2 separate regions of the Homo sapiens genome follow, and region 1 is linked to region 2. The links are contacts of gene promoters, found by promoter capture Hi-C in human tissues and cell types (Jung and others, 2019). All regions are on one chromosome and are shown on one strand. The core of a region is centred on a gene start or on the middle of the fragment in contact, and the rest is flanking DNA. Distances in the headings are between cores, read along the strand shown. Region 1 overlaps PHACTR1 (phosphatase and actin regulator 1). Region 2 holds the start of PHACTR1 (phosphatase and actin regulator 1).

Region 1 (4,059 bases), core at 534-3,033, 350 kb after region 2:
TACTGGGAAAGGTTTGCTAGAGAAAGGGATGTTTAACCAAGGGGTTAGCAATGCATGTGAGGAAATCTCTCCTGGTGGGCAGAACAGAATGTAGGAGAGCCAGGGAAGAGAGGAGAGGTTAACAGTCTACAGCTTAAAAAGAAATTATGTCCAGTCACGGTGACTCATGCCTGTAATCCCAGCACTTTGGGAGGCCAAAGCGGGAGAATTACTTGAGCCCAGGAGTTTGAGACCAGCCTTGGCAACACAGAAAGAGCCCATTACCACAAAAAAAAAAAAATTAAAAATTAGCTGAGTGTGATGGCGCATGCCTGTAGTCCCAGCTGCTGGGGAGGCTAAGGTGGGAGGATCACATGAGCCCAGGAGATCAAGGCTGCAGTGAGTCATGTTTGCACTACTGTACTCCAGCCTGGGCAATGGAGTGAGACCCTGTCTGAAAAAAAAAAAAAATTATGACTTGAAAAGGATTGTTGGGGGAAGGGACAGAGAGTAGTGAGAGATGAGGCTGAAGACATGGACAAGAATCTGCTCATGAAGGGTCTTATGAGGTATGTTAAGGAGTCTGGGTGTTATCCTAATGCAATAGGAAATTATGAGAGGACTTGCATTTTAGAAAGATTATTCTCTATATTATGGGAAAAGCTTGGAGTGGCACCAAGTGGTGTTTACAAGTTTATAATATAACAACTTCTATAAATATTGTGTTGGTAATGAGAGAAAATTTACTTGTGATAGAATTAAGATGATACCTCATTCCTATCACATCAAATGGAATATTGTGTCCTTATTGATTCTGGTAACAAGAAGACTGGTTAGCAGGTGGTTGATTATAATGTTGGGGAGAGAGGGAGATAGCCTAGACTAAAATAGTGACATTAGGAACTGAAGACTGTGAACAGATCCAAGAGATATTTAGGAGACAGAACGAGCAAGACTTGATTACAGATTGGATGTGGAAGTGGGGAGAAGAATAAAAAACCACTCTTGGATTTCTCACTGAGCAATTAAATGGATGGAGGTATGTTCTGTGCAGGAGATGCACGAGGGGAGAAGAAAAGACACACACACAATATCTTTAAGGGTAAACAAGCTTTATCCCACGTAAATGGCAATGCAGATATAATAAGCAAATGATATAATAAGCAAATGGTATAATAAGCAAATTAATATAATAAATTGCAACGGGAAGGGGAGAAGGGAAAAGATATATATATATATATATATATATATATATATATATATATATATATATATATATATATCTATATATCTATCTATCCACACTTGCCAGACTATGGAGGATTCACCACCAGACCGGGAAGCAACAGCCTGGGCTCCAGAGTCAGCCGCTTGTCTCTGCACAGATGAGGAGACGTCTCATGAAGCTTCAGCGTGGTCTGGGACCCTAGGTCTTTTTGTAACAAGTTGTTTGGCATGAGGCCCAGTCACAAAGGCCCTTTGCGACTGGGCTCAAGGAACGCAAAAAGTCAACTTGATTTTTGTGATTGTCTATTGTTTTTCAATAACTAATATATAGGAATAGATTGAAATACAGATTTCTCCAAAACAGTGCTGGATGAACGCCTCAACTCATCTGTTCCGGGACTTGGTGACCATTGTTTGTGTCCATGTTCAATTGAGTTCAAATTTAATATTTAACTTTTCCTCCACATTGTACCATTGACTAAGTCAGATACACTGAAGAGGAGCAGATTTGTGAGGGGAAAAGATGAATTTATTTGGGGCCATGCCAGCTTTCATGTGCTTCTGAGACATTCAGATGGAGGGCTCCTTGGGTATAGATAACTGGGGTCAGGAGAGGTCTAAGAAATGCAGATTGGAAGTCATCAGCACCTGGATGATCATGGAAGCCCTGGGATGAAAACTCCAAAGAGAGAAAGTAAAGTGTGAAGCAAAGTCGAGGGTACAGTAACACCCTGAGGGCCACCAGCCTGTGAGTTCTGAACAGAGGCAGCAGAGCCTACAGAGAAGACAGATGGCCCACTGGAGTTTGGAGGAAAACCAGGAGGGACTGGTGGTCTCGGTGAACCAGAGGAGAGAGTTTCAGAAAGAAGAGTCCACCCTGGCAGATCTTGACAAGATGGTGTCCGGTGGGCATAGACAACTCATCATTGGTGTCCTTTGGGATTATGACTTTAGGGAAGCCACGTAGCTGGGATTTAGATAGCATGTGGTTGAGGAGTAAATGAGAGGAGAGGAGGTAGTCATCTTCTTTTAAGATGTTTGGTTGAGAGGGAAAATGAGAAATATATAGCAAACAACAAAAGGGGATGTGAGCTTGAGGGGGATGTTTTTTAAGATTGGTTAGATTGTGTCAAGCTGCAAAATTTGCCTTAACATGGCTGTGGCATTCTCAGGGAAATTGAAACATCAGCAAAGTGACTGTTAAGCCAAATAAATATATTTGCACACATTTTTCAGCAATGACAATTCTCGTGACTAGGAAAAGCAAACATGCAAATAATCAGAGCACTAGTTAGCATCTGATTTTAATAAGAAACTATCAAACCAAGTTGAATAGCCTTCAGCATCTGGCCAGATCACATATTCCCTTTGGGTGAATGATTGGAGCATTTCATTTCTTCTTTAAAAAAAAAAAAAAAAGATCCAGCATAGGTAAGCAGGGAATATTTTTAGTTGTGTATTCATCATGACCCACAAAGGGACCATCTAGTGGTTAGAAAGCAAAGCAGACTTAATGGTCCTGTTTTGTTTTTAAAAAATCTCTAACAGGTACAGACTAAAGACTATGGAAATCTGTTACCTTCTAGGGCTGGATAAAAGATGTAATTGTTTCTTCTCAAAGTGAACTTTATCCAGCACTCTCTGCGTGTAAGTCCAGGCTATAAAATCCTTAATAGCATTGACTCTGCTGATATCCTCTTGTCTTCTAGTGTTGAGCAGAGCATCTGGCACAGAATAGGTACCGGATAAGTACATGTTGAACTGAAAGTCAGTAAGACAGCCAGCCAGATATTAATATATTTTTAAGCTTCTCTGTTTACTAAGATCTGAAAGAGGAGAGGAGGTAGGGTACTTATGGATGCGTAAGATGGAAGGTCCCCGAGTTTGAAGAATTTGCCATCATTCATGATTGTTTTCCAGTTTTTCATAGTTGTGCACAGGTTAGGCTAAATGACTGCGTGTGTTAAAAGCTCAGGTTGTTTGGACAGCATTATTGTTTGGGTTATCTATTGCTGTGTTACAAAACCCCCTAAAACATAATGGCTTAAAAACAGCAACCTCTGTATTATCTCTTATGGCTTGGGGATTGACTGGACTCAGTGAGATTGTTCTTCTGCTGGTCTCTCTTGGGGTCTGTCATGCATTTTCAGGTGGATTGCATTGGAGTCATCTGGAGGCTCCCTAAGGTGCGAGGAAAGCTGGGCCCCTTTCCCTGTTTATGTTGTCTCAGGGCTTTTCCATGGGGTTTCTTCCTATGGTCTCTCCAGCAGGGAGCTGAGGGCCCCTAAAAGCACAAAATAAGATGCTTCCATGCCTTTTAAAGGCTTAGGTACAACATTGGCTTAGTATTACAGTCACATTATTCTAATGGTTAAAGCAAGCCATGGGACCAGCCCAGATTCATTGTTGGGTGGACTAAACAAGGGTGTGGATGCCAGAACAAGGTTCATTGGGGCTTGTCTTTGGAAGCCAGCTACTACCATTGTTCAAAGTGTGGCAAGACAACAGCTGCTCCTTGTTTCCTTCTTCCCAGGTAGAATGTGCTTCAACAATGTTACACTGATGACAACAGCAGGAGCAATCTTCTGTTGTGCTCTGCTCATATTACTATGTCGTATGAAATATACTTGACCCTTTCCTTGCCTTATGGACTTGAATCTTGCATCAGACCCATATAGTATTATTAACTTCACTTGACAGGTGAGGAAACTGAAGCTTAGGGAGACTCAATAATTGCCAGTTAGAAATAACAGAGCTGGAATTTGAACTTAGCCTGCAGTCTTCTCAAATATATCGCATTTCAGATCCATGAGGGTGGAAATCGATAATTCAGATGCTTTAAAACATAATTCT
Region 2 (4,013 bases), core at 1,047-3,546:
TCTACACTTTCATATTTTAATGCCATCAATGTAAAACATATGACTTGATTTTGGAATTTTTAAAATAATATTTTATTTCTAGGTCATAGAGATATTTTAACACTGAATTAAGTTTTGCAGAGCTGAAATCTTGAGAATGTTTTGGGTTGGATTGTTCAGTGCCGAATACGTGTTAGCTTGAATACTTGATGTAACCTTGCCTTCCTCTCTGATTATTTCTCAGAACAATAGACCATTATAAGTGTTGTTTTGGAGCAGTTTAAAGTTACAAAACAGAATTGAGCTAATCAGATTTTGACATTGGCTTTTGAACATTACTATGCTTTACCATATTTAAAAATAATTTTTGAACACACACACACACACCTATATGTAATCTATAGCTATATTCCCCAGAGAGTGAGATCATTTTTTGAAAATCTATTACAGAAGTTGGTCATATGATGCTACAGAACACAGTGATAATTATTTAGTAAAAGTAAGTCCCTGTTTGCAAATGAATAATCATCCCCTTCCCAAATACATTTCTTTCTTTGTTTCTTTCTTTTTTTTTTTTGAGATAGAGTCTTGCTCTGTCACCCAGGCTGGAGTGCAATGGCATGATCTCAGCTCACTGCAACCTCCACCTCCCAGGTTCAAGCGATTCTCCTGTTCAGCCTCCCAAGTAGCTGGAATTACAGGTACCCAACACCATGCCTGGCTAATTTTTTATATTTTTAGTAGAGATGGGGTTTCACCATGTTGGCCAGGCTGGTCTTGAACTCCTAACCTCAGGTGATCCACCCACCTTGACTTCCCATAGTGCTGGGATTACAGACATGAGCCTCTGTGCCCGGCCCCAAATACATTTCTTTAAGTTGAAATTTTCCCTCCTGAGTTTTCTTAAATTACGACCCTTTCATATTATTTGTTCACTTTGTAAAGTATTTTAAATTTCTCTTTCTTGGTCAACTCTCCAGAAATGACTGACTTCCAAATCCACCACCTACCCCCTGGGAATCAACTCTATTTTTCACATTTCCAGTTTAGCATCTCTTTCTTCAATCACACATTCATTTGCACTCACCTAAAGGTTTGGTCAGCAGCATAGACTTATACTCTCTCTCTCTCTCTTTCTCTCATCTATGAGTCATTACAATTTCAGTAGAATTACAATAACGAGTTCAGAACCTGTCGCCCACACCTCACAGTAAGTAAAAGGAACCAGAAGACAGCTTTCTCCTCTTATAAATGTCAAGTGTTCAGCATGTCTCCAGTGGGTGCTGAATAGAAAAGTAACCTTAAAGAAGTCAGTCCTTGGGTTGGAGCAAAGCTTTCAGAATTCAGAGTCCATAGTTGACTTTCCTACAAGGGCATATGATTGGTAGTTTCAGCTTCCTTTTTCATGAGGCTTAACTGTCTGCAGCACCGGCTTGGTGTCTGATCTGTTCTGATCGGGTGGGAGAGGGAGACCCCACAAAACAAACAGCAGAGGATTTTCAGGTTTGTTTCAAGGGCAGCCAGCCGAGCTGTGTATAGGGAGTGGGGGGACAGGGGTGGTGTTGATGGTCTTCCTTCCGAGGCTTATCAAATGTAAATGCTCTTTTCTTAACAAGCTGACCCACTGTACACCACACCATACTAATGAGCAATTCTGCTTGGTCAACAAAGGGTGCAAGAGGTTGTGGAAAACCCACAGTAGGGCTTGCATTTGGCTATCACTATGCCCTGCATGAAGATCTCAAAGTACTGTGCCTAAAAGTCATTACTGAGGTTTGGTAGGAAGAATATTAAACCAGAATAACTTGAGATACTAGCCAAAGTTTATTTTTGTTGTTGGTATTATTTTGTTACATTCAGACAGAGAGAAATGCATTTAGGCAGACTGGCATGATCTGCGCTGGATATTTGACCAGGCAATCAGAAGCAAGGAAAGGAAGAAAGCCAGGCAAGAGGGAAGGGGTGACATCAAACGTGCCCTCTGTATTTCGCTCCAGAAAACAGCTCACAATTATGACTACCTGCCTTGTTTTGCAGCTCAGCATAAAAGTGGTGTTGCACCAAACCCTACTGGAGCAGCCTTCATGATTAGAAAGTACTCCACACCTTGGAGAGCTGAGGAGACATGAGAATAATTTTAAATGCAAATTAAATTGAGGGGGTAGCAGAGAAGAACACATAAAAGACAGTAAAACAAAACCTTTCAATTTTCTTAAATTAGCAGTCTAATGTGTTCTAAAGAGCAGCTCCACTCAGATCTCTTCTTAAGGGTTGCATTTCATCACAGTATAAATGGGCAAATCCATCACTTCCCTCTGCTCAGTGCTCTTGAAGCGAGATTGAAGGGAAAATTAGAAGCTGTTCATTTGTGCTTGCGGGCTCAGAAGCGTCGCACTGCTTTGTTTTGTACTCTACCGTGTCCTGTTGAAAGGGGTCAACAAGTGCCGGTGAGTATCCGCTAACTTCCAGACTCTTCCTTTCAAATATCTTTTTGGCTAATTTTCCTTTGCCGGGGATGGGGGTTGTGGGGGGAGTGGGGATCTCCCACAAAATCTATGCTATAATATGTCTTTCAGAATCTGGGAAATTTCAGACAGCTTTTTAAGCTTCTTCCAGTGACTGATTTGCAGAAGGGAAGAGTTATTTTCAGCCTAGATGCCGGTGGCTGTTCTGTGTATTAATTATAACAGGGGAATGTCTAACGTATGTTAAGCTAAAATGGCCTTTCCCTAAACTCCCCCATTCCCTGCCACTCTTAGGCCAGCATTAGGGTAATAACTGGTGCCCCCACAAAAATTTCTAGACAACTTTTCTATATATTAAATTTTTAATCATTTCATATTCTATTCTTTTGTAGCTGCAAATCAAACTAAGATTTGGGATTATGAAAATAAACAATGAAGACATAAATCTGTTTTGTTTTTTTTTTAATGACTATGGCACTTCTCTGCCTAAGAGATAGGGGGCTGGGGAATAGCCCTGCATGATGTATGCATGTGGATTTGATGATTTTCTGCCAAAGTTTTACACGGGAAACTGGTAATTTTCTCCCTTCGCAGGGGAGGGTGCAGAGGCTGAGGCTGGCGTCACCTTCCGTTGCTAAGGTAACGTGCTCTGGCCATTTTATCTGATAAAGGAAGTCCAGTGGACTGTATGCATTATTCATCACTGTTCTAATCAAACAATCAAAATCGTTTACTTTCACCGGGAATATTTAGCAAGATCAAAGACACTCTGGCTGGAACGGCTCTTGTTTTACCGCTGACAGATAGCCTTTGATTTTTATTTTTTGCAGTAAGTATATTTGCTATTGGGGTACCTTTGGGTATTTTTAAAAGTTTTGTCTTACCGGACTTGGTTTCTTAAATTAAAATACATACTGTTAGAAAGAGAAACCAATTGGATTAGACTTCCAAGCTTGGTTTTAATGACTTTGTCTTGTTAATTCTTTCCAAAAAAATATTCTGCAGAAATAGAGATAATTCATTTGTGTGAGTATCAGGGAAAGGCTACATAGGCTTGAAAAAAGAACCCAACAGGCTGAATGTTTTCTGGGGAAGTATATTAGCTTTGTGACAGGCTAGTGTATGATAATATAGGGATCACTGTAATGCTGCAATCATTCTTGCTGCTCTACAAACCACAATTGTTTCTCAAAAATCAGCCCCTGCCAGGCACAGGCAGGTGACGATCCTCTAGCACTTTATAAAATGTGCTGAAGGGAATCGCCGGAAAGGAAGGAATTCAAAGCATTTGTACAGCAAATATGTCAGTGTGTGTCATAAACGCACGGCATCTATGAGTGGAGGCTCGGATTCCCAGGCAATTTTCCCTGCTCCAGGGGAATCCGAAAGTCCCAGGATGAGCTGAGGATCAACACTCACAACGGCTGACACTTAATGACGCTATTTATCAAATAGACCTTTTGAAAACTGATAGCATGTGAATTTAACAGTATATGTTCCAGAGAATATAAAGCAAGGAAAGGCTGGTATGTTATCTCTCTTTAGATCAGATCATCTGTTTTTCCTGAG

Evidence for each region. The method cuts DNA at HindIII sites, captures the fragments that hold promoters and counts their contacts. A contact is called where the count stands out against the background at its distance.
Region 1: a contact is called between a fragment that was not itself captured here and the fragment with the promoter of PHACTR1 in region 2, in 1 of the 25 tissues and cell types used here (mesenchymal stem cells).

What each region holds. Positions count from the first base shown.
Region 1 is chr6:13,063,344-13,067,402 of GRCh38, forward strand. The region is part of intron 5 of PHACTR1 (phosphatase and actin regulator 1); the gene reads left to right. Among named protein-coding and RNA genes, the nearest start is that of TBC1D7, 260 kb to the right of the region's middle. The HindIII fragment of the contact is 3,368 bases long and covers 100-3,467 here.
Region 2 is chr6:12,714,471-12,718,483 of GRCh38, forward strand. It overlaps PHACTR1 (phosphatase and actin regulator 1), which reads left to right and starts at 2,297. Exons shown (of 15, transcript NM_030948.6): 1 at 2,297-2,426; 2 at 3,039-3,273. The region is part of intron 1 of LOC107984015 (a long non-coding RNA gene); the gene reads right to left. The HindIII fragment of the contact is 3,467 bases long and covers 1,949-4,013 here.